Regions from separate parts of the Homo sapiens genome. Here all the other regions are linked to region 4. The links are contacts of gene promoters, found by promoter capture Hi-C in blood cells and fetal thymus (Javierre and others, 2016). All regions are on one chromosome and are shown on one strand. The core of a region is centred on a gene start or on the middle of the fragment in contact, and the rest is flanking DNA. Distances in the headings are between cores, read along the strand shown.

What was found. Contacts are between HindIII fragments. The CHiCAGO score rates a contact against its expected background, and 5 or more counts as called.
Region 1: a fragment that was not itself captured here is called in contact with the fragment with the promoter of NFKB1 in region 4 in 1 of 17 cell types (naive B cells); the score reaches 5.2 in naive B cells.
Region 2: a contact is called between a fragment that was not itself captured here and the fragment with the promoter of NFKB1 in region 4, in 2 of 17 cell types (neutrophils and activated CD4 T cells). The highest score is 8.1, in neutrophils.
Region 3: a fragment that was not itself captured here is called in contact with the fragment with the promoter of NFKB1 in region 4 in 2 of 17 cell types (fetal thymus and total B cells); the score reaches 6.2 in fetal thymus.

What each region holds. Positions count from the first base shown.
Region 1 is chr4:99,809,817-99,816,310 of GRCh38, forward strand. No RefSeq gene overlaps it. Among named protein-coding and RNA genes, the nearest start is that of DAPP1, 3.8 kb to the right of the region's middle. The HindIII fragment of the contact is 2,861 bases long and covers 3,794-6,494 here.
Region 2 is chr4:99,840,320-99,847,249 of GRCh38, forward strand. It overlaps DAPP1 (dual adaptor of phosphotyrosine and 3-phosphoinositides 1), which reads left to right. Exons shown (of 9, transcript NM_014395.3): 3 at 1-103. Among named protein-coding and RNA genes, the nearest start is that of DAPP1, 27 kb to the left of the region's middle. The HindIII fragment of the contact is 3,832 bases long and covers 1,846-5,677 here.
Region 3 is chr4:100,090,610-100,096,957 of GRCh38, forward strand. No RefSeq gene overlaps it. Among named protein-coding and RNA genes, the nearest start is that of DDIT4L-AS1, 96 kb to the right of the region's middle. The HindIII fragment of the contact is 1,043 bases long and covers 2,081-3,123 here.
Region 4 is chr4:102,496,559-102,502,899 of GRCh38, forward strand. It overlaps NFKB1 (nuclear factor kappa B subunit 1), which reads left to right and starts at 4,801. Exons shown (of 24, transcript NM_003998.4): 1 at 4,801-5,230. NFKB1-AS1 (NFKB1 antisense RNA 1) reads right to left here and starts at 5,928. Exons shown (of 5, transcript NR_136202.1): 1 at 5,881-5,928. RefSeq lists silencers at 4,481-4,740, 4,751-5,320 and an enhancer at 5,431-5,480. The HindIII fragment of the contact is 5,238 bases long and covers 3,860-6,341 here.

The DNA.
Region 1 (6,494 bases), core at 3,974-6,473, 2.7 Mb before region 4:
CCAGCTTCAGCAAGAAAGCCTAATATATATTATGTATGTGTGCAGGATAGCTTCAGCAACCCTGGGTATTTGTTTCTAAAAAGTCACATTATTTCAAAGTTAAAAGGGAACTTAAAAGTGACTTAGAATAACTTTCCTTCTAATATAAGAATCTTTTTTACCAGTGACATACAAAGGTGAGGGGGTGCTTGGGAGCACTTTAATCCCTGGTATAGTCAATAACAATAAAGAAACAGGCTGTGCGTTGTGGCTCATGCCTATAAACCTAACACTTTGGGAGCCTGAGGCGGGAGGATTGCTTCAACCCAGGAATTCAAGACCAGCCTGGAAAGAATGGCAAAATCGTGTCTCTACCAAAAAATACAAAAATAAGCCTGGTGTAGTGGTGCATGCTTGTAGTCCCAGCTATTCAGGAGGCTGAGGTGGGAGGATGGCTTGAGCTGAGGAGGCAGACATTGCAGTGAGGTGAGATCATGCCACTGCACTCCAGCCTGGGTGACAGAGCCAGACACTCTCTAAAAAAAAAAAAAAAAAAAAAAAAAAGAAAGAAAGGGAATAAAGAAACAATGATAATGATAAAACCAATGAGAAGTCATTCTGCTCTTTATTATCACCAGAAACCAGCAATTCTAACCAATGTCAATGACAGAATATACCTCTCAGCAGAGGCAAACCATTCCTCACTCCCTACCAAAAACTGAACATTTGTGTCCCACAAAATTCCTATGTAAAAGCCTAATCCCCAATGTGATGGTATTTGGAGGTGGAGCCTTTGGGAGGTGATTAAGTCATAAGGTCATAATTCTCATTAATGGGATTCATGTCTTATAAAAGAGGTCCCAGGGAACTTCCCAGCCCCTCCCACCATGTGAAGACACAGCAAGAAGACAGCCAGCATCTATGAACCATGAATCAGGCATTATCAGACCCCACATCTGCTGGTGCCTTGATCTTGGACTTCCTAGACTCCAGAAATGTGAGAAATAAATTTCTGTTTTGTGTAAGCTACCCAGTCTGTGGGATGGGGTGGGGAGAGTGACCCAGGACCCCTAGTGATGAAGGTGGGGAGAGTGACCCAGGACCCCTAGAAATGGGGTAAGGGAAGAGTAACCCAGGACCCCTAGGGATGGGGTGGGGAGAGTGACCCAGGACCCTAGGGATGGGGTGGGGAGAGTGACTCAGTACCCCTAGAAATGGGATGAGGTGACAGTGACCCAGGACCCCTAGGGATGGGGTGGGGAGAGTGACCCGGGACCCTTAGGGATGGGGTGGGGAGAGTGACCCACGTTATTCACAGTCATATGAATAAGAAATTCACTTCTGTGTTGAAGTGTTAAATTTTGGGTCTTTCTGAAGTAGCAATTTAGCATACCCTGATGAACACAGGAGAGAATGAGGCAGAGTGAAAAGAACCTTGAGTGAAAATGTTATGTGCTAGTTATTCATCAATTGGCTTCAGCTCCACTTCTGACCTCCTCTCCTCGCCTGGTATCATAGGGGACTGGAAGCCCACAAACTACATTTCACTAATTCCCTTGCCAGCTGTCTTCCAGAAAGAATTTGCTAACAGGAAGACTGGAGAAGGGTAGAAATCTGGGGTTTTTTTGTTTTTGTTTTTGTTTTTTTCTTCCTTAGGCAGTGCTTTCAGCACCATGAGCAGCCTTCAGCAATGGTGGGCAGCTGCATGCTCCAAAAGCCTCAGTCCCAGTTTTCAGCTGCATCAACAGAGTTGTGTCCTTCTGGTCCCACAGACCAGCAGTGGCAGCTAAATGTCTACAGTGGCTTCTCTTTTCTTAACTGGATAGTGACTGATGCACATAAATTCTCTTCCTGGTGCTGCTAATTTCTGACAATTTTCTTAACATTTCTGAGCTCCAATTTTCTTATCTATTAAAAAATAACAAGAATAGCAATACCTGCTCTGTGTCAATAACATAATGTTCATGATATACAAATGAAAATGATTATGAACACTCATAATCTAAAGAAATGTATTTTTATGGATCCTGGTTAAGTTTGCTGTTATTGGTCATGTCTTTCTCTTTCTAGACCTCCAGGAGCCTATTGAATGTTTCTAAATTGTGATCCAGTCAAATATGTTAGTTATTTTTTCATTTGAAAAGATGAATATAGCCTGCACCAACAGGGGGAGCTGTTCTTTTATAACCACTGAGAGTGGCTGTATTTCTTCTTTGAGGGCAAAGCTTTAATTGTTTCAACACCAGCTACTGGGAAATGTCACCAGTGAACCAATTAGCCTGGCTTCCTGAACCATGTAGAACTGATTATCCAAGTCAGGCCGGCAATGGGCTTGGGCACAGGGTATATGGTAGACACAAATGAAGAGTGACCTCAATGTCCCATTAATGTTACTTGACTTGTGCTCACTTGACCTCAGGTTGCTTGTAAAAAAGGTAGGGTCTTAGCCCTTTCTCCCTGAAATCCTCCCCAGTGATTTCTGGGAAGGGCTGGCTTTTTATTTCACTTTAGCTTTCTCGTTAGGTAGGTGACTTTGCATAGTTACCTTCAGTGGATTTACTGTATTATGGTTTTTAGGTTGCTCTTAAAGTGAGAAAAAAATGTGCTTGAGGTAGACCAGGTAGCCCTTTTGATACTTTTAGCCAGGTAATTCTTTATTGTGGGGGCTGTACTGCACACTAGGATATTCAGCATCACTGCACACTAAATGCCAGTAGGCTCCCCAGGTTGTGACAACTAACAATGAAAACCACCTCAAAAATGAGGACCCAATTGAGAACCACCATTTTAGGGGCTATGGATACTATATCAGTGAAGGTTCTCCAGAGAAACAAAACCAATAGTATGTATATATGTGGAGTGTGAGAGTGTGTGTGTGTGAGAGAGAGAGAGGGTGTGTGTGTGTGTGTGTGTGTGTGTGTGTGTGTGTGTGTGTGCGTTGTATAAAATAAGGAATTTCCTCACATAATTATGTAGGCTGGTAAGTCCAAGATCTGCAGGGTGGGCTCACAGGCTGGAGAACTAGTTCAAGTCCAAAGGCTGTCTACTATAGTACCAGGAAGAGTTGATGCTGCAAATGAAGACCAAATGCAGTCTACTGGAAAATTATGTTGCTCGGGGGAGGCTGGTCTTTTGGTTCTGTTCAAATTTTCAACTGGTTGGATGAGGTCCACCCACGTTATAGAGAGCAATCTGCTTTACTCAGAGCCTACCATTTAAATGTTAATTCACTCAAAAACACTCTTATAGAAACACCCCGAATAACATCTGACCAACTATCTGGGCAACCCGTGGTCTGGCCGAGTTGACACGTAAAAGTAACCATCAAAGATATAAGGTGATCAAGACCCTGGAAGTCCCTGCCTCTGGGAGCTCACATTCTAGGCATTGACCCAGATGATAGGCAAGTGTTTCAGTTATCTATCGCTGGCTGTATTAGTCCATTTTCATGCTGCTGATAAAGACATACCCAAGACTGGGCAATTTACAAAAGAAAGAGGTTTATTGGAATTACAGTTCCATATGGCTGGGGAGGCCTCACAATCATGGCAGAAGGCATGGAGGAGCAAGTCATCTTATGTGGATGGCAGCAGGCAAAGAGAGCGCTTGTTCAGGGAAACTCCCATTTTTAAAACCATCAGATCTCATGAGACCTATTCACTATCATGAGAACAGCAGGGGAAAGACCCACCCCATGATTCAGTTATTTCACACTGGGTCCTTCCCACAACATGTGGGAATTATGGGAGCTACAAGATGAGATTTGGGTGGGGACAAGGAGCCAAACCATATCACTGCCTAACAAACCATCCCAAGCTTCATGGCATCAAATAGCAAACATCTTATTAAGTGCATGTATTCTTTAGATCCAAAATTCAAACAGGGCATGGTTTGTCTCTCCTCTTTGATGTCTGGGGCCTCAGCTGGCAATATGCAAACCACTAGGAGAGAGTGATTTGAATGGCTGGAGGCTGGAATCATCTGGGGGCTTCTTCAATCAAGTCTGGCACCTGGACTAGAATGATTCAAGCTGGGATTATCTGGGACTGTTGACTGGAGCACACACATGAAGCATTCCACGTGGCTTGGGCTTCTAGGCATAACAATTATGTTCCTAAGGGGAACCCCTGAAAGTAACATTTGGAGAGTGAGCCTTCCAAGAGACCACAATAGAAACTGCAAGGCTTCTTCTGACCTAGCCTCAGAAGTGATCCAGTGTCACTTCCACCACATTTTATTGGTCACAAGTGAATCACAGAGGCCAGGCCAGATTCAAAGGAGGGGAGTTAGGTGCTGCCTCTTGACAGGGAGCAGCAAGGTCACATTGCAGAAGAGCATGTGGGTTGGGAGATGTATGTGTGTATGTATGTATGTATGTATGTATGTATCTATCTATCTATCTATCTATCTATCTATTTATCTATCATCTATCTACTATCTATCCATCAAGAGAATTTGCCACAAGTAAGCAAATATTCTATATAATTTCAGGTAGAGCTAAAAACAGAAGTGGTATTTAGACTGTTACAGATACAAAGGATCTTCTGGGGTGATAAAAACCATTCTAAAATTGTATTGCAATGATGGTTGCACGACTCTGCAAATTTACTCAAAATTATTGTACACCTAAGGAAAATGAACATTATGATATACAAATTGTACCTCAATATACCTGTTAAATATACAACTAGCATGCCACAGGCACTGAAGGATAAGAACAGACATGATGCTGGCCTTGGTTCCAAAACAAGGTTTTTTGTTTTTTGTTTTTTGTTTTTTTTGAGACGAAGTCTCACTCTGCTGCCCAGGCTGGAATGTAGTGGCATGATCTCAGCTCACTGCAAGCTCTGCCTTCCGGGTTCACGCCATTCTCCTGTCTCAGCTTCCTGAGTGGCTGGGATTACAGGCGTCCACCACCATGCCCGGCTAATTTTTTGAATTTTTAGTAGAGACAGGGTTTCACTGTATTAGCCAGGATGGTCTCGATCTCCTGACCTGGTGATCCACCCGCCTCGGCCTCCCAAAGTGCTGGGGTTATAGGCATGAGCCACCACGCCCGGCCCAGAACAAGATTCTAAATCCCCTTTCAGTTACACAGCAATAGATGTCCCGGGAGGGATGGGCTCCAGCATTTTGTTGAAACTATCTAGCAAGCCTCCTGCAGCTGTTACCACTGCAAAACTAAGTGTGTAGTTAGTGGAGTGGGCGGGGTGGTAGGGATACTGTGAAAAATTGAGTAAATGACAAAGTGGGACAATGACATCAAAGGAGAGGGCAACAGACAGGACAGCAACATGAGGAAGGGCAAAAGGCAGGAAGATTCAGCCAGAAAAGCAGGACGATCTTAGAAAATTCTGCTACTTGTACTTCCAAAAAAGTTAAGAAAAAGAACAACCAGAATTTGCTAAAAATGGGAATGAAATAGATACTAAAACACCAAATAAAGGGCTCTAGAGAGGGAACAGGAACTCTAGTGCCCAGGCTGTTCCCCTGTCACTGCTGTATGCATATTCAGTATCTCCCTGGCCTGCACTGGCCTCTCTGTTCAAGTGGGCCCTGTCCTTCTCTGTGAGCAAACTGTAGCCAAAAGAATTTAAGTGCTCATTTAGTCAGTTATATATGTATTATCAGAGCTTAGTCTTCAGCAGACTGCCTCCAGACACTCAGGAACTTCCCACTGGCAACCAGTGTTACCCGGGTCTCACCGATCCCGGGTGAACAGTGGTAATAGGGAGGAAGATGAAGGATAGAACCATTGCACAGCAGCCTTTTGCAATCATCTAGTCCTTTAGGAACAGTTCTGCTGTGCTGTTTAGTCCTCAGGCCACACTGTGAGAACAAGTTACAGAGCACTGTGGTGAGTGCTGAATGAGTCAGGGAGTAGAGATAGGAAGAGAGAGAGAGAAAGGGAGAGGGAGAGAGAGACCTGTAGGTACATAGAAAAGGCAGGAAGCAACATATGTCCTTGACTCATTTGATACTGCACTTTGTTCCACTTCCCAAGGATTCAGTCACTGCAATTTACCTTTAGCATTCCAGGCAGATAGAATCCTGCTCTACATATGAATCTGGGCACAAAGCCATGCAGGTGTGAGTAAGCCCATGAAGGAAGTGGCACTCAAAGACTCTAGGAGTTCAGGCCAGGTGCAGTGGCTCATGCCTATAAGCCCAGCACTTTGGGAGGCCGAGGTGAGTGTATCACCTGAGGGTGAAACCCTGTCTCTATAAAAACACAAAAATTAGCAGAGCATGATGACGGGTGCCTGTAATACCAGCTACTTGGGAGGCTGAGGCAGAAGAATCACTTGAACCCTGGGAGGTGGAGGTTGCAGTGATCTCAGGTCATGCCATTACACTCCAGACTGAGTGACAGAGCGAGACTGTCTCAAAAAAAAAAAAAAAAAAAGACTCCAGGAGTTCTAATATGCCCCATTAGGTGGGCACCAGAATGGCCCCTTGTAACTTTTTCCTACCTTCTCCTCTCCTAATTCTTTTTCTGTGGAGGAAACAATAAT
Region 2 (6,930 bases), core at 2,512-5,011, 2.7 Mb before region 4:
GAATATACTGGATATTCATTTAAATTTGGCTTTAATGAATTCTCATCTTTGAAGGATTTTGTCAAGCATTTTGCAAATCAGCCTTTGATTGGAAGCGAGACAGGTAAGCTATGAGCAGACACTTGACTTATGAAATAATGTTTCGGGATGGAGGAGAGACAAGGCAGATTTCAATTTAAGAATGTCATTGTTGTCATTTATATTTCAGCATTATCTTGAAGAGAAAACAATGTATTTTGTATAAAGTAGATATTTTCTCAGAATGTGTTACTTAATGGATTGATTAAAAGCACACAATTTCTTTAAAATGGGCTCACCATTTTAAAATAACATATACAATACACACAAAAAGAACAAAGGTAAAAATGACTTTTTGATTACTCATAATTTCAGATATAGGCAGTTTGCATATGAGTGAGACCCACAGAAGTAAATTTTGAGCATTTTAAAAACTAAAATTCCCACTTAAATGTTCACAGAGATCACTGAATATTGAAAATATTAACTAGGAAGCACTCTCCTAAGTTATAAAATTCTGTTTCTATTGTCACGGTTTTTTAAATAAGATTTTAAGCTAGACTTAACTATGGCTGGAAAAGTTTGAATTTTCCTGTTTGAATGGTTAGAGAATTAAACCAGAAAAAAATTCATGTGTAAAGAAAAAAAACACAAAAAACAGTCTATCTTGGCACTTGAATTATCTAAGATTGAACATCTTGTTTATTTATATTATTTTAATGAAGTAAAATATCATCCCTGTATTTGTGATATAGAATCACAACACTTTTGTCCTAAATAATGATAAATCTTAGTTAATCAAAGACTAGGAAATTCCAAGAACCTGCGGCACAAGAGGAACTCAAGACTTAATAACACAACCAGTTACCATGAGTTTGTACATACGTGTTTTCTTGGCAAACTTGCCAGTGGGCTTTCTGTTAACTTCAGTGTGATGGGAAGAGATGGCATCATTGGCTTCTGTCTTTTCTGCTATTTATGTGGTGTGGGTAGTCCCTGATGTGACTCACACAGTGTCTAGTATACATGAAGTGCACAGCGGAAACTAGAAAATAGTTGCTCTGCTTTATACTGACCACACCAAGCCCAAGAAAGAATAACCCAAACTACGAAATGAAGTTATAACCTTTTTTTCCTTCTTTCTCCTGGTATAAATTCTCCCAATCAACCCTGAAAATTACTTCACCATTTAACAAGCAGTTGTTCCCATGAACAAATGGCCAGTGGAGGTGTATTTATTTCCACTGCTACCTTGGCCTTGGCAAGCATTTCAGTTTCTCAAATCCCTACACTTCAGTCTCCTTTCCTGCTTGCATCCAATTCCACACTTGATTTTGTTCAGTTATTGGTCACTGGCCATGTAGAGGAGATTTTTAAAGCCAGGGTTTTGTTTTGTGTACCTCTAATTTTTGTATTTCATATCCGCCAGGTCCTGGCCCACTGCAGGGCATTTTGGGTGAATAAATAAATGAATACATGGATAACTATGAGTAAGAACTCTTTGTAGTCTTCAAAGCCACTAGAGTTGTCATTTTTCTACTTTCTCTTTTTCTTCCAACCAAAGACAGCTCCCTTCTTTTAAATTCTTCTCCTAGACTCTATTTTCAACTTCTTTGATCATTCCCTGTGCTCCTTCCTGGGCCTTCTCCAAGTTAGGGAAAAGATACATATTCTGCCTACTGGCAGATTTCAAAACATTTAAGATCAAAGTGAAGGCAGTGCTTTCTGGTTGAACCTTTCTGGCACTGATCCAATCATCAGGCAAGAGGATCACCTAAGGATGCGCCAAAATAAAGATGTTTTGATATTGCATTTGGGACAATGATAAGCTTCCTTGTAAATACACTGTTCTGAGTAAAGAAGCCTTATGATTGATGCATTAGGGATTGTAAGGATTTGTCATCCAGACTTCTACAGTAGTTTCTCTAAAACTCAAACCTGCTGTATTATTATCTTGACTACAATTGCCATTTTATTTATTACAATATAACTCAGGAACCTAATATTTTTATCCTCTCCACTGCCTCTCCTCTGTTCTATTCATTATCCAATGAAGAATTTGCTGCTGTTTGAATTCCTGCTTTCGGCCCCTCGTGCTGATGGATATGCACTTGACTTGCTGGCTTCCAGCCCTTGAGTTAGAGTCCACCAGCTTTATTCCTCTTATCTGTCCCAGCCAGATGAAGGGAAAGCCATCAGGGCTAGGAACAACAGGCAAAACCCATGACAGATGAGTGTTCAAATCTTGCCCCTCTGGGAGTAATAGGCCTTGGGAAACAAGATAATGTGCTCAAGTCATGATGACTTGTAAGCCCAGAAATTCCTCAAGGTTACGGAGTCAGCATTGCAGACTATAAAGAATGGTGAATGGAAACTGACATGCCACCTTCTAAAAATAGGCCTTTTCTTCTTGTTCATTTAAGCATGGGCTCCTAGTATTGGCTCCCAGTGATCAGAAGATCTTCAGGCTAACGATTTCATGTTCACCTTCAGATGAAGTACAGATATTTCTTTCTTTTTTTTTTTTTTTTTGAGACGGAGTCTCGCTCTGTCGCCCAGGCTGGAGTGCAGTGGCGCGATCTCGGCCCACTGCAAGCTCCGCCTCCCGGGTTCACGCCAGAAGTACAGATATTTCTTATAGCTTATGTTTGATTAACATCACCAGGAAAAGCATTTGTCCACACAATGGACAAGCCCCTCCCAGGGCTCTCAACTTCAGATTACCAGAATGACAAGGACTAGAATTGGATATTTCAGGCCACTGCTCTCAGCCAGACCCCACCCAGGCCCAGCCTCACCCTGCAGGGTCTAGAGGGTAAGTTTATTAAAGAGTGACTTTCTTATAATACATTTATCTACTGGCACAAGTGGTATTACCTTTGAGGGCAACAGAAATGATATCCAAATAGCCAAAACTTTACACTTTTGCCTTGCAGTTATATATAATGCCTTCAGTAGAGTGAAACCCAGAATATTTGATTTTGGGTCGTAAGAACATTTTTGCACTCAAAATAGATAAAAGTGTTGACCTAAGGGGATTAATGCTATTTTAAGATATCTTTTTTTTCTATTCCCTACTCTTTACACTTTTAGGATTTCTGTTTGCTAATCTGAAAAGCAAGGATTTCCTAAGCAACATCTAAGCCTCTTGACAACTTTAAGAGTATTTTATGATAATTTCCCTTTCCCTTGCCATAATCTCTATTTCATCTCTCTAATCTCCATTAAAGTTTCTGTTCACTCTAATTTCTTTTTATCAATACCCATAAACACTCTTAAGATACTTCCAATTCTCAAAACCTAATAATTTCCCAAGTACATGATAGAGATATACAATGTACTCTCTTGCTTTATTTTTCTCAATGGCCCTTTTACCTTCTGACATCTATAATTCACTTATGTTTTTTAAAAAAATACCTTTTTTTCCACACTAGTGTGTGAACTCCATGAAGAAAGGGACTTTTGTCAGCTTTGCTTCCTGCTATGTCCCAGGACCTGAAAAAATAAGTACTGATCATTTCCACAATATGTCATGCTGGATGCCCCATTTCCAATGCCTGCATTGCAGTTTTTTGCATGGCAACATCAAAACTAGCAAACTTGTGACAATTTTAACTTTCAAAGTTTATAAAAACATAATTTGAAATGATATTTTGTGTTGCATGTATGCTCAGTGATGATTAAATTCAGAATTTGCCTTTCATTTGTGATAGTGTTGCAGGACTTTTCCTTAGTTCAGCTAAAGATCGGGTCCCTCTCCATCCCACGGCCACAAAAATTTAGGCTCGCAGACGGTTTGAAGGGTGAGTGAAGCAGGGTTTTATTGGATGAAAAGAAAGAAAAGAGGGAAACAGGGAAGCTAGAGCGCTTCCTGCCCAGCAGTTTGAATTCTATGTTCCTCACAGGAAGAGGAGGGGCCAGGCTCCTCCCCACTGCAAAGGACACGAACTTCCTAAGGCTTCACCTCAGTGGGCAGGCCGGTTGGAGTTTTTCTGTCTCAATAGTAGGATATCAAATAAAACATATTCATGTCTGTGCATGAACTCTAAACTAAACTCAAATAGACTTGAAAATTTGAGAAACTTTTTTATTAGTATAAATATGTTTGGTCCATTATTAATTTTGTCGTAGCCTCTTGTAATTAGCTAAGTTTCATATATATAGTCTTGAAAATGTAGACGGCATTTATCTTTATGCTTAAATGTCTAAATATGATTAGAACAAAAAATTACTTTTACCATTACCTTTTGTTTATGTTTCAATAATTCTTAACATGAAATTGCCATGTATAATTTATTACATTGTATTGTGACTGTAATCACCTAACAGGCATGAAAAAATATAATACAAGTCAAGTTCTATGTTTGTGCTTACCCTTTATAATAATTGGTTCCCAATTTTAAAGATCTCATCTGGTTTTTTGGTAAATGTCAAATCTCCATTTCTCTTTTTGTTTTGATATGGGGATTCCCAATCTTTTGACGACAGCTACCGCTATTATTATTTTGTTTTGTGACACCACCCAGGTGATATTTTTAAATAATGTGGTTAAAATTAATTTTAATTTGAGAATTGGGTGGTTCTTCAGAAAACAACTAGTGACAACTTAGAATTTTTCCAAACTTCCTTGGATGTTTGCCAAAAATACAAAATGTTCTCAGTTTATAGATGAGTTTTATTCGAAAAAGGAAAAAGCAGCTGAGGAAGGGAATTAAGCCAACATTTTTAGAGTGTTTGCTAGGTTCCAGGCATTCACCTACATCAACTTATTTCATCTCAGCCACCCACAATAATGCATACAACGGTCCTATTTTCAGATGAGGAAAGGAAAACTCAGAGGTTTTAAGTCACTTGCCCAAGTTTTCACTGCTGGTAAACATCAGGGCTGAGATTGGAATCTGGGCTAATCTGGTTCTAAAGCATAGATGCTTTCCATGCACCTTGCTATCTTTTGAAACTGGTCCCACAATAACAGTACATTGTTGCCATGGTACAGTGTGGCCTTAAATGGATTTGGAAGAACTCAGAGCTGAGATTGGAATCTGGGCTAACCTGGTCCTGAAGCATAGATGCTTTCCAGGCACCTTGCTATCTCTTGAAATTGGTCCTACAGCGACACTGCAATACATTGCTGCCATGGCACAGCATGGCCTTTAATAAATTTGGAAGAATTTCTGCTACAATAATGTAGTAGAATGATTGTAGGATATGGCAGGGCTGTAACACATGTCTTAGTCCTATCCCTCAGTCTCTTCTTTATCTCTTCTTTAAAGTCTACAATAACATGTTTGGTACATGAAGTAAACCTATTGTTCTAAAGAGTGTGAATCAACTTTAACTTCTGCCTTTGTATTTATTGTTATTCCCATTTTATTTACATGAATTGCTATTTCAGAAATTATACCAGAGGAAACTTTAAAACATAAAAAGGCTGAAAAGAAAACATCCCCCTAAATATACAGGCTCATCTTAGTCATGTGTCTTCAGCAAGGATATCAAACAGCCTGTCTAAGTATAACAAAGTAAAATAAAATTTACAGCTTGAGAGAGAAACTGAAAGAAAGGGAAAATGAGAGGTAAGATCAAATGACAGCAGGAACAAAGTATTTCAAATGAATATTGTACATTTACAGGAAGCAGTACAAGCATTTGGTAATGAAGCTTCTCGATGTTTTTTTCCCCTTATTTGGGCCTGTATGCTTAGTTAGATTTACAGGATGTTAGAATTGAAAGGGAGCTCAGGGACTATTGCATTTTTCCTTTATAAATGAAGAAACTGAGGCCTGGTTAGAAATGGGGAAGCAAAAACTCACATCTCCTTTCTCAAGCTGCCTCCTAAAGAATCAATTTCTTCAAACTTTGATTTATACATGTCAACTCTTGCCCACAATACAGCACAGTATTTCACATGCCCTAGAAGTTTCCATGGTGACTAGATTGAGGCTGAGAATAATTATGGTATAATGAGTAAACACACAAATTCTAAGTTTCAACTCCAGCCTCTGCCATTTGCCGGCTCTGTGTGTCTCCTCAGGTAAGTTAAATAATCTCTCTGAGCTTCAGTTTCATCATCTTATGAAACTGATTAGATGGTAGTAGCTCATACTTTAATGACTTATTGTGAAGATTGAATGAAATTAGGCACATAGGACATTTGGAATGATTCTTAGCATAGTATAAGTATTCAATAATTATTATTCATATTTAATAAAATGCTTTTATGGTTATTAATTCCATCAGATTCTATGCAAAAGCTGTACGTTCTTTGATAAATAATAAAGAATTAGTTTAGGGACAATTGAATTTGCATTTATCAAATGTTTGTGATGTCCTCTTCAAACTTTAATCTAGTTCCATAGTGGACTCATATAAGTGGTAGAATCAAGTGAGCACTCCAAAAATAGTGACTTGACTTGGATATTTGAACAGAATTTTCTCCTACACTGACTAACTGGTATGTCTCTCCTAGTTCAGTGCACTTCACCCTATGAGACTGGAAATTAAATATTAAAACCCCTTCACATGTAAATGAACAAGGCTTAAAGTCCATTTGCAGAGCAGGTGGCAAAGAAGGAAGGAAAAAGATCTTGAATAACCCTATTCTCTCCCACCAACCCCAAGAAATCTACTTCTCATTGGAAGGAGGGGAGAGAGGAACTCATTATGCCAGTTGCAGAGCTTATTTTCTGAACCTGAGGGCAGTAATGAAACACGGATGGACATGATCTGATTTTAATTTAATTCAACAAAATGTTTTGAGTGAAATGGCCCTGTGAGCCACTGATAACATAGAAAGATAAATCAGATATTATTCTTGCCTTCAAACACCTTACAGGCTAGCTGGGGTACCTGATGAATAAGCACTGACCTCACTGCATAAAATAAATACTCTAAACAAAAGTTTTTCTTTAG
Region 3 (6,348 bases), core at 1,352-3,851, 2.4 Mb before region 4:
GTGATGACTTCAAATTTGTTCTTTTTGTTTAGAATTGCTTTGGACATTAGGACTCTTTTTTGGTTGTATATGAATTTTAGAATTTTTTTTTTAATTCTGTGAGAGATGATGCTGATATTTTGATAGAAACTGCATTGAATCTGTATATTGCTTTGGGCAGTATGGTCATTTTCATGATAGTGGTTCTTCCATTCTGTGAACATGTGTTTCCATTTATTTGTATCGTTCATGATTTCCTTCAGCAGTGTTTTGTAGTTCTCCTTGTATTAGGAGGTCTTTCACCTCCTTGGTTAAGTATATTCCTAGTTTTTTTTTGCAGCTATTGTAAAAGAGATTGAGTTCTTAATTTTATTTTCACCTTGGTCTTTGCTGGGGTATAGCAGTGCAACTGATTTCTGTACATTGATTTTGTAACCTGAGACTTTGCTGAATTCATTTATCAAATTTAGGTGTCTTTTGGAGGATTTTGTACAGTTTTCTAGGTATATGATCTTTACCACAGGGCCATGTTTGACATGTTTATTTGCAGGACTTTTCACTCTCAAAAAAATTTTTGTTTGTTTGTCTATTTGCCAGTGTATAATCTCTTTTCTCTTTGTAAAATAAGCTCCATGAGTGCAGGGGCCTTTGTTTGGTTTACTGCTGTATCACTGGTGTCTGGCATAGTGTTTGGCATGGAGAATGTGTTCAGTCAATTTTTTTGAAAATGTATTAATTTTCTAGGGCTGCCTTAAAACTTATGATAAACTGGGTGATGGAAAAAAAATGGAAATTTATTCTCTTATGGTTCTGGAGGCCAGAAGTCAAGCTGAGGTGTTGGCAGGCCAATGTCCCCTCCACAGACTATTAGAGAAAAATCCTTCCCTGCCTCTTCCAGCTTCTGGTGGTTCCAGGCATTCCTTGGTTTGTGGCTGTGTAATTCCATTACTTGCCTCAGTCTCTATATGACTTTCATATCTGTCTCTCTATATCTCACCCCTGTACCTTTCTTTTTTTTTTTCTCTTGTTGCCCAGGCTGGAGGGCAGTGGCGTGATCTTGGCTCACCGCAACCTCCACCTCCCAGATTCAAGCGATTCTCCTGCCTCAGCCTCCCGAGTAGCTGGGATTACAGGCATGCGCCACTACGCCAGGCTAATTTTGTATTTTTAGTAGAGGTGGGGTTTCTCCATGTTGGTCAGTCTGATCCCTGTGTCTTTTATACGGATACTTGTCATTGAGTTTAGGGCTTACCTGGATAATCCAGAATGATCTCATCTCGAGACCTTTAATTTAATGACATCAGCAAAATCCCTTTTTCCAAATAAGATCATGTTCATGGGTTCCAGGGGATTGGACATAGACATATCTTTCTGGGGTGTAACCATTGAATCCACTACAAAAAGCATGCTCAAAGGACTCATGAATGACAAGCTAGTCCTTGAAAACCTGTGCTGTCTGCCATTTTCCTTTTCTGTTCTGGCTGCCTGGGGTGATGTTTCCTGTCGCAGCTAATGCCGCAAGTGATAGCTCTACCTCCAGTGACCACTAAGGCAGGACAGTCAGCAAGAAAGCCAGAGATATTGTTATAGAAGAATTTTAGACAAATTCGTTTAACAGACTTTATTTGATCAAAGAACAACTCGTGAATTGAGCAATACTCAGAACCGGAAGAGGTTTTAAGAGCTCCACCCAGCAGTGTAAGCAGTAAGCTTTTATAGGATGAACACAGAAGAAAAATAGAAAAAAAATCATCTGATTGGCTTCGGCTAGGCATTTGCCTTTTTGGGCCACGGCGTGTTGAGGCATCTGCCTTATTTGAGCATGATCTGATCAGTTGGCTCCCTGTGATTGGCTTGATGGTCAGCTGTTTGTGATTGGTTGAAACTTGGCTACTCGCAAGAAGAAAATATACTCCTAAGTTAGGTTTTGGCTTGTTTATGTACTAGATTAGGTTGTGGTTTGTTATGTAGGACCTCAAAATATGAGACAGTCCCAGGCCAATGGTCTCCTGCTTATTTAATTTAACAACACAAGATTGCAAATTTCTGAAGGTGGGTCCTTAATAGCTATGCCTAGTGTGCTGTCTCTAGGCTACGCTGAAGCTTCTGGTACCTCATCTGTTAGTGGATGTTAAGTGTGGTGTTGCACTCTCTTCTTTAATTGCCGAAAGAGGAGTTAGCTTTGGGCCTCATCATTGCGAGGAAAGAACTGAGGCTTGGAGGGCTGAATTGAAGATTAATCTGAATGACTAACACTATGTTGTTTCCAAAATCACCCCCTGTTCCACTTTGAAACAAACTTGTGTTTTCTCAGTTTCTCCCCGAAAGGAAAAGTTTCTCACCAGGAGTGTCGTGGTGCTTTGTGTATATAAATCCTTGCTGGGTCCATATCTATTCTCCACACATGCCTGGAGTCGAGGCTGAATCATTTATTATTTATTCCCCAGCATGATATAGCTTTATTGCTTATGTTCACTGGGGTTTGGGAAATAAAGACTCAGGAAGCAGAAACACACCAGCTACAAGAGTCTGACATTTGTTTATGAGCAGGACAGCCTTGACTTATTATTCTACTTCTTCTCTTGCGTCTCCGGGAACAGATCTAAGAAGTGGGACCTTGTATGCAGTCACTGAGACAGCTGTTCCCATGAAAATCAGGGCTCATGGAGGACATGCAAATGCTTCTCTGTCAGTCTTCAGCCTGCTTGCTCTGCCTTCTGCTTTCCTGGTGAGGATTAAAAGAGGATTTCAGAGCTCTCCTTCAATTTGATGCCATCATTTTGATGTCTATGCCACCCGTAACTCCAATTTCTAAACTTGAGAGCTGTACAGGCCTGTTACAAAGTGGTTACCTTTTAACCACTAACTTCCGAGAAAAAACTTGGATCACTGAGGAGAGAACGAAGACAAATACAATTGAAGCCCCAGGTAGTTTTCCTGAGGCCTCATGATTTCTTTTGGCAGAGAAACCTATGATAGCTGGTGGCCACTAGGGGTCCCCAGAAGGCTTTTTTAATGAACAAGAGGCACCCGCGCTCCTCACCCCTCCCTTTCCTTCCCACAAATGCCAGGGGTAAAAACAACTTTAAGCTCTGACGTCAGCCAGCCAGGGGAGCCACCCTGTTGTGCCCATAGGTATAGCTAAGCTTCTGAGAACTGGGGCCTGGTGCTTTCCCTGGCAGCCCAATTTTCAGCTTAAATCATTGCCTTAATGTTATTTTAATGTGCTTGGGGTCCCTGGGGGACAGAGTGGGTGGCAGGGGAACAGCATTTAATTTCCTTTGGAGTTTGGAATGTGCCTGACACTTCTTAAGTACTTGAGTGAATATGAGAGTCTGTAATCCTTGCAAGAGCAAGCAACTTTGGGGGCCTTCTTATTTGGCAAGCTTCAAGACAAAGTTAAATTTTTGCTAGGAGAGAGGGAAAAAAGGAAATAAACATGTATTAAAAGTCTGATATATGCCATGGGCTTTACATTTATTATATTATTAAATCTCAAAAATAACCTCATCCAGTTGGAATTATTGTTCTAAATGCTAATATTAGGAAGGAGACATTCAGATTAAACAATTTGCCTACTGTTTACAGCTGATAAATGACCCAGGTAAGACCACAGCACTGGTCAATTAGGATCCGCAATCCAGGCTATGCTCTCAGTATCCTTCAGCCTTCTGGTTTTACTGTGAGGGCTCTCACAAAGGAATCTACTCATTGTTTTACCTGAAGCTTTTAAAGTACATAACCAAATCCAAACCTATAAAGGTGAAATAGCACTTTTCTAGATAATAAAATTAAAGCCTGAATGTAATCAAGCAAATGCTTATTAGGGATATTTTGTCCACCAGGTGCTATGTCTAATGCAGGTTCTGTTGAGGGCCTCATGTGCTTAATTCAGAGTAAAAACAAACAAACAAACAAAAAACACTAATGTTAGGGCAAATGTATTATTTTGACCAGAATGACATAGATTGGCTGTGTCCACATCAACTAAATAAAGTGAGCAATTATCTGATGAATTGCTGCTGAAGAGAAACACTTGATTCTTTACCACATTACCAAAAGGGTAGATTGACAAATAAAGAAGAATGTATCAGGCTTGAAGGTTGGCCAAAAATTGCCAGTCAATACTCTGGAAGTTTAGCAACAGGGAAATATCATAAGGGTTTATTTGAATCAGCCCTGTCACAGTGCCCAACCCAGTGCCTGGTGTAGTGTAGGCTCTCCGTGAAGGCAGAATCAACGTTGAATGATGTTTTTAAAAATGTTTATAGGCCCACTGTGAACATCCCAGTCTCCCTTCAGCTGAAGTCACTTTATGTTGACTCAAAACAATCTGCCCTCCAAACGAAAGTGTAAAATAAGAAACCAAGGCTTAGACGCTTCAAACACCAAAGCACCCTCTTCTTATATTCCTCCTAATTGTTAGTAGAGTAAGGTGTTTGGCTATTATTAGTCTCCCAGTGCTTACGTATTTGCTGGAAATATGCCTCATCCTCATGTATTACACCTTCTGCATAATCTAGTTTTATCATGTAGAAATTCCAAGGATTTATGAAGGTGAAATGACTCTGAAGTCCCTTGGATGAGGCTTATTAAGTGGCCCATTTCTTCTGAAATTCAGGGAGCTGAACTACAGCAAGGATGGATTGCCAAAATACATATTATGTAATTTTAAGTCACTTGCGCATGACTAAAACCTTAACCATGGTCAACGTAGGAGAAAATGATAATGATGTAATTTATTTGTGCTCACGTTACCATCTCCCCACCCAACAGTGCCTTAAAATAGATACAACGGATAAACTAGTAGAACCCTTTTTAAAAACATCAATGGCCACTTTCAAAGGAAAACAAAGTAAGGAAAGGAAAAAGAAGATCTGAAAAGGAACATTCAAAGGTGGGGTCTTAATTTCATCTGTGCTCATGGGAGACAGGGGGTGACATCATTTGGTAGAGAAGATGTCTGAAAATTCAGCCTCTTGAAAAGAACAATGTCAATCTATTCTCACTTTTAAAATTTGAAAAAGAGGAATGGTAATAACAACATTTACCATTTATTGAGCCTTCTTATGTGCCAGGTTCTAACCCGAACTGAAATCTAAAATAATTTCTCTTGAATCCTTAGAAGTTTGATGTTATTATCCTGATGTGTATGAGGAAAAAACTTAAAGAAGTTAGTATTTGCCTACCCTCCTACAGCTCATGAGTTTTGATGGTTTCTTGAGTTGTTGGGAAGATTTGCTAACACTGGTGGTCTCACTGTGCTTTTTCACTGGGGCATATGGTTATGGGTTAAAGAGTGGTGGCCTTGGCTTAGGGTTAACAAAAGTAATATTAATAGTAGCTGCAAGTTATTGAGTGTCCACTGTGAGCCAGTCTCTTCACGCTTATCATCTCTTAATTTTCACCAAATTATCTGCAAGGAAAGTTTTATCTTTTAATTTTCACAGAGGAAAGAAAGTTGACTGAGGAAACTGAGGTTTATGTTGCAAGAAAGTGATGAAACCAGGATCAAAGCCAGCTTTGCCTGTGTTCTTTCCACCTTCCAGTCCCCGCTGTCCTGTGAGGATAATTAGCAAACGCAGACGTGCTCGCTCGCACAGAACACGCTCCCTCTGGTGGAAGTCAGAGAGGTACACAATGAGGCCCTTGTATGAGTCAACCCTTTCTGGGTTTCAGGAGAATCTGACCTTGTTTCTTACTTTGTCATCTCCTGTTGCTTAGCTAGAGACCCTAAATATGCATCTTCTATTTGTGACTCTGTTTTTCTGTTTTGCTTATTATTATTAAAAATAGCTGACAAAACAAACAGTAGGGCAACTTACAAAATATGAATGAATGACACATACCCACAGTCTCTCCTTTTTTTTTGTTTTATTTTGTTTTCTTTCCCACTTTAGACACTTTGGGTGGTTAGCAAAATCTACCAGAATATATCTTACTTGTTTTCAGGATCTGTCAGAAAATTGTTATGTTGTCTTGGATCCTGAGCCTGCTGTTTTGCCCACACCCTTGTTTGGCATGAGGTGAGACTAGGAATAAGAGAATAAACAGTTGCTTGTACAACATTTTCATAGAGAGGAAGTTATTATATGACACCCAAGCAGAGAAACTCTTCTTCTTAATCCAGGATGACTGAGGAGGCCAGAGCTCTCCTTTTTGCTCTGGAACCATGAGCCTGCATTCCCTCGCTGCCTTTGGCACCTTGGCTTTCTACCTTCATGTTCTGAATATGTTGTGTTTTTCTCTCCCATTATGCTGTAAACTTGGCAATAGTGGGGACCGAGTTCCCTAACTGATTTTATCCTGTTTCTAGTAGTAAAAGGTTTTCAGTCAGGCTTGGTGGAAACAAATATAAAGAAGATAAAT
Region 4 (6,341 bases), core at 3,551-6,050:
TATTTCTGTTGTTTAAGCCACCCAGTCTGAGATATTTTGTTTTGGCAGCCCTAACAAACACATTCTCTAAGGGTTTATTCTCATTTTTGGTTTAGTGTATTTCAGCTGATGATTATAGCCTAATCCTCCCCCTCTTCTTGGGGCCTCTCTTCTCTGTACTCTTCCTCCTCATATCTCACACAGGCAGATTTGTTCCTGCCTCCTCACCTACATTACGAGCTCCGCACAGTCTCCTTTCTTCTGGCTCCGGCTCCCTCATTAATCTTTCTGTTATTAACGCTATTAACTCGTTAAACTATCTCTCCACCTTTCCAAACTTCCATTAACTCTGGCACTCCATAAGTGTTAGTCAAATAAATGAAGAATCACACTAACTCCTCTTTCCTTCCCTCTCACTCCAAACTCTTGGTGAGATTCTTTTGCACTTATGCCCTCGTTTCCCCATTTCCCACTCACTTGTCAGTCTCCTCATTCTTGGTTTTCCTCATTATATTGAAACACATCTGAAAAAGTCATGTAAGACCACAGCCACTGCGTATCAGTGCTATTTGAGAGTTAATAAAGTTCCCTTTTCCTCCAAGACAGCGAGCAGAGTGAACAGAAGAAAGACTGGTTTCTGCCCTTGGCTGCACAGCCATGCCCCGAGGCCGGGCTTAGGATTTTATAATTCACAAAGTCAACTGTCTCTTCCCCTCTCCATCCTTTAGGAACTGTCTGCAGTATCTGACACTGTTGAGAGCTCTCATACCCTTTAAACTCTCTCTTCTCTGGCTTTCTGAGCTTTCCTCCCACTTTTGATGGCACTGCAGGAGTTTTTAAGCATCTCTCTCTCATACCAACCCCAGAAATAAAGTCATTCCTCGAATTCCTGTACTTAGCCCCTTGTCTCCTAACTCTTTGACCACTAATGTTTTAGAAACACTCTCCTGACAACTATCGCATCTTTGCAGTTGTTTCCATTTCCAACGCCATGTCTCTCTGAGCAGCAGCCTTGAGTTTTCAATTGCATATTTATTAGTCATTTCCATATGGACATCTCACTAAATCTGTCATACTAAACATGTCTAAAATATGTATGTTTACATGTTACATGTATGTTTGGTATGTGGGAATGCATTACATTCCCACAGATTTTTTCCCAGTTACAGTGTTACTATTCTAATCACTCAGACTAGAACACTCAGAGCTATCTATGAGTCTTCCTCTCACTCAAACTGCATATATAATCTATAAACAGGTCCTGTTGACCTCATCTTCTAAAAATCTCTTACATGCTCCTTTTTATATCATTGGATAATAGTTTAGTGTGGTGGTTAATATCATGCACACTGGAGCCAAATCTGTTAGGTTCAAATCCTGACTCTCCTTCTATTTACTAATTATGAAACCTTAGGAAAATTATTCAACTTTTCATCTGTAAATATGGGGATTATAATGGTGATCCACTTTATATGACTGACAACCAAATAAGTGAATACGTGTATAGCAGGTATTAACCATATGCTTAGCCGACCTATTTCAACCTCCTAACCAACCAGAAGAACTGTAGTTCCCTGCTCTCTTGCATCTAAGTGGGGCCATGGAATGTGGGCAGAAGTGTTGTGTCACCTTTACTCAGAGGCAATTAAAAAGAAGACATACTTTTCCTATGTTCTCATTGCCAATGAACACACTACACAGATCTCAACCTCAGAATTCTCTCCACACTGGTATTTCCAAAATAGCTTCATGAGAAGGGAAATTTGTGTAGTTTCAATGATTTAGTGATGCTATGGTTTGGGTATTTGTCTCCTCTAAACCTCATGTTGAAATGTGACCCCAATTTTGGAGGTGGGGCCTAATGGGAGATGTTTCGGTCATGGAGGTGGATCCCTCACAAATAGATTGATGCTATTCCCTGCAAGGAGGAGAGGATGAGTGAGTTCTCACTGCATTAGTTCCTATGAGAGCTGGTTGCTAAAAAGTTTGGCATCTCTCCCCTCTCTCTCGCCATACGATCTCTCTGCACACACCACCCGCCTTTGCCTTCCATTGAGTGGAAGCAGCCTGAGGCCCTCACCAGACGCATATGCTGGTGCCATGCTTCTTGTACAGTCTGAAGACTGTGAGCCTAATAAACCTCTTTTCATTATAAGCTACCTAGTCTTGTGTATTCTGCCATAGCAACACAAATGAACTAAGACAAGTGACAAACACAAAATAACTTGTCTTTTAGACAATATTGATGTCTGAAATTCCACATTGAGGCATTTTTTTCCTCTTCGTAGCCTGATAATGGCAAATACCTTCTGACACCTTAGGATGGATGAATTTGTAAGAGATATTCCTGGAAGCAGGTTTGTACAGTGTAGAGAAAATGTTGGGTAACAAAGCAGGAATGGAGGAGGGTTAATCAGCAAGCCAAAAAGCTTTTATAGTTTTGCCTGCTGTGCTGCATGGAATTACATCCCCCCAAAACATATGTTCAAGTCCTAACCACAGGTACCTGTGAACATGAGTTTATTTGGAACTAGGATCTTTGCAAATGTTATCAAGTTAAGATGAGGTAATACTGGATTGGGGTGGGCTCTAAATCCAATGACTGGTGTCTTCATAAAAGAAAGGTGAGGGAGAGTTGAATATAGCGACACAAAGGAAACACGGGGAAGGAGACCATGTGACAATGTAGGCACAGAATGGAGTGTTGCAGCCAAGCCAAGAATGGCAAGGATTGCTGGAGCTACCAGAAGCTAGGAGGAGGCAAAGGATTCTTCCCTAGAGCCTTCAGAGGGATCATGGCCTTAATGGCACCTTGAGTTCAGAATTTTAGGCTCCAGGACTGTGACAGAATAAATTCCCGTTGTAAGCTGTTCAGTCGGTGGTAAATTTTTACAGCAGCCCCAGGAAAATATGCCTGCTCAACACCCTACCCTGAATTTTAAGTTCATTTTATGGAATCATTTTGAGTTTGGAGTTTGATTTAATCCTTTTCAGTAATTAACGCTCTTCATTTTTTACTCCCAAATATGTCACACTGGCTCTACTCTTATAACAATTGTATTTATCTATCTTTTGGTAATGGGGCTGCCACCCCTTGCAGAATGAAAAGTAGAGTGTGTATGCTCACACCTCCCTCCCTCCCTCCCTCTCTCCCTCCCTCTCTCTTTCTTTCTTTCTCAGAGTATCGCTCTGTCTCGCCCAGGCTGGAGTGCAGTGGCGCAATCTTGGCTCACTGCAACCTCTGCCTCCAGGGTTCAAGCGATTCTCCTGCCTCAGCCTCTGGAGTAGCTGGGATTACAGGCGCCCGCCACCACGCCCGGCTAATTTTTTTGTATTGTTAGTAGAGATGGGGTTTCACCATATTGGTCAGGCTGGTCTCAAACTCCTGACCTCAGGGGATCCACCCGCCTTGGCCTCCCAAAGTGCTGGGATTACAGGTGTGAGCCACCGCACCCGGCTCACAGAATTTCTTAAAAAGTCATTGTGTTCAGTCTTTATGGATCCTCTAAATTCCAGCTGCTCAGCCTCCCGGAGCTAAATGAGATCACTTAAAGGTCGACTGTTGGGGCCTCCAAGGTCGCCTCGGAGACTCACCTCATAGGCAATCAAATGGATCGCTGGGTTTTTGTGTGTGTGGGTTTTTTTTGTTTATTTTTTTTTTCCAGAAAAACACTCCACCAAGAAGGTTTTTATAACCTACTGGAGGAGGAGGATGGAGAGTGGGCACGAAAGGACTAGGATGAACATGCCATAAGCAATCTAAATGCCACTGCAATATTGCCTGGTGAGGACCTGATTACTGATGTTTTAAAGCTAAGCTTTCAGTTGTCACTCCACCCAGTAGTGAAACAATGAGCTCTAAAATATATATTTCGGCTCAAGCTTTCTTATGTGGGGAGGTAATCCACCCGAAGGTATCCCCAGCCTGTACCTAATACAGTGCCCAGCACTAAAGCAGCTCAGATGCCAGTGAATGGTGGCCACTGGGAGGCCTGTCAGTGGGTGCCAGTAGCGGTCTCTTCAGAGAAAAAGAAAACTCCCCTCTGCCAGATCAGTATTTTATGAGCTGTGAACCAAAACCATTGCTACCACCATCACTATAATTCTATCCACAGTAATTATCATAAAGGCCTAACAATGCCTTGTAGATGAACATTCTGAGTAACTGCTCTATAACCAGGAGATTTAAGACCGCACCAAAAACCAGTAGAGGGTTATACTTTACTGGGCACAAGTCGTTTATGATAACGAAATTGTAGTTTAATCTGTGAAGAGATGTGAATGTAACTGAGACACGCTTAAATGGAATATACAGATGAGCTTTATTTTTATATCTGGCATGCTTGGATCCATGCCGACCCTCCAGCTGCTCGGGCCTGCCCTTAGGGGCTATGGACCGCATGACTCTATCAGCGGCACTGCCACCGCCGCCGCCTCCGTGCTGCCTGCGTTCCCCGACCATTGATTGGGCCCGGCAGGCGCTTCCTGGGGGCTTCCCTACCGGCTCCAGCCCTTGGGATTCGGGAGCGCCCTGCTAGGAAGCCAGAGCCCCGCAGGGGCCGCGGCGTCCAGGCCGCCTAACGCGCGCCCCTCGCCCGGCGCCCCGAAGCGGCCCCGAGGGGCGGGAGCCGAGGCGAGCGGCAAGGCCGGGCCGGGGGCGCACAGCGCCCCTAGAAGTGCGGGCTTCCCCCACCCCCGGCAGCGACCCTACCTCCCGCCCCCGCTGCGTGCGCGCGTGTGTCCGTCTGTCTGTATGCTCTCTCGACGTCAGTGGGAATTTCCAGCCAGGAAGTGAGAGAGTGAGCGAGACAGAAAGAGAGAGAAGTGCACCAGCGAGCCGGGGCAGGAAGAGGAGGTTTCGCCACCGGAGCGGCCCGGCGACGCGCTGACAGCTTCCCCTGCCCTTCCCGTCGGTCGGGCCGCCAGCCGCCGCAGCCCTCGGCCTGCACGCAGCCACCGGCCCCGCTCCCGGAGCCCAGCGCCGCCGAGGCCGCAGCCGCCCGGCCAGTAAGGCGGCGCCGCCGCCCGGCCACCGCGCGCCCTGCGCTTCCCTCCGCCCGCGCTGCGGCCATGGCGCGGCGCTGACTGGCCTGGCCCGGCCCCGCCGCGCTCCCGCTCGCCCCGACCCGCACTCGGGCCCGCCCGGGCTCCGGCCTGCCGCCGCCTCTTCCTTCTCCAGCCGGCAGGCCCGCGCCGCTTAGGAGGGAGAGCCCACCCGCGCCAGGAGGCCGAACGCGGACTCGCCACCCGGGTAAGCCAAACTCGGGCGAGTGGGGGCCCGGCAGGGGACGCGTGGCCCAAGTCCTGCCGCCCAGCCCTCCGCACCCCCTCCAGCCCCACTCGGACTTCCTCATTCCTGCGCTAACCGCTGGGCTAGACCGTGGGAGGAGGTTGACAGTAGCTGAGAGGCACATGGGATTAGCGACAGCGGGGAAAGACACATCCGGACCTCGCAGGGGCTAGTCGGCCGAAGGGCCGCGGCCGCCCGGCGGTCATTTCTCTTCACGTCCCTCCGCGGGGCGGGAACGCGAACCGGAGGGGAACTCTTACAAACTTTTAAAATCCCCAACCCCAGCCCCACCTGGGGGATGGTGAGAAGGTTGGAGTGCGCTGCGGCGCGGAGGAGAGAGGGAAGGTGGTTGGTGCAGTGCAGAACCAGATTTCACCTAAGGGCGTTCCATGAAATGAAAGCAGAAGTGCTTGTCAGTCCTCTTGGCTGGGAAAGCCCTCCCCAGCTCCCCAGAATTGAATAGGAGAGTCTATTCATCCCTCTCCTACTTCTAAAAGAAACCTGGCTCGCTCTCTGTCTCTCTCTCTCTCCCCCCTCCCCCCCTCCGTGCGCGCGCGCGCGCGCACACACACACACACACACACACACACACACACACACGATATAGTCACCTGCTATAGGACTTGATTCTGATCCTCCGGGGCCTGGCATTTGAGAGAGAAAATAAATTACCTACCTGGATACTTAGAGCACTTTTTAGACTTGATTATGTAAAACTCTTGGACAGTGCCACCATGCATTATGCATGACCGCTGAAACAAAAATAATGTAAAAACAAGGCCTATCCTAAATGCAAGTTTTTCTATGGTCCTTAAAAACAGACACCAGGGAATGTTTGCCCTGACTTGCTGGTTTATCCTGAAACTCAAATGGGACTTAATGATACAGGATTTAATTATCAAGATTGACATGTTCATGGACTTTGTTAAGTAGAGGTTTTCAGCATTACAGTTTATGAAATAACCATATTTAACTCAAAGATTTTTTTATAAAGCTCATAATCTGAAAAAATGCTTATGGTATTACTAAAACATTTAATAGCTCTGGCATCAAAATATTCTACATACTGGTG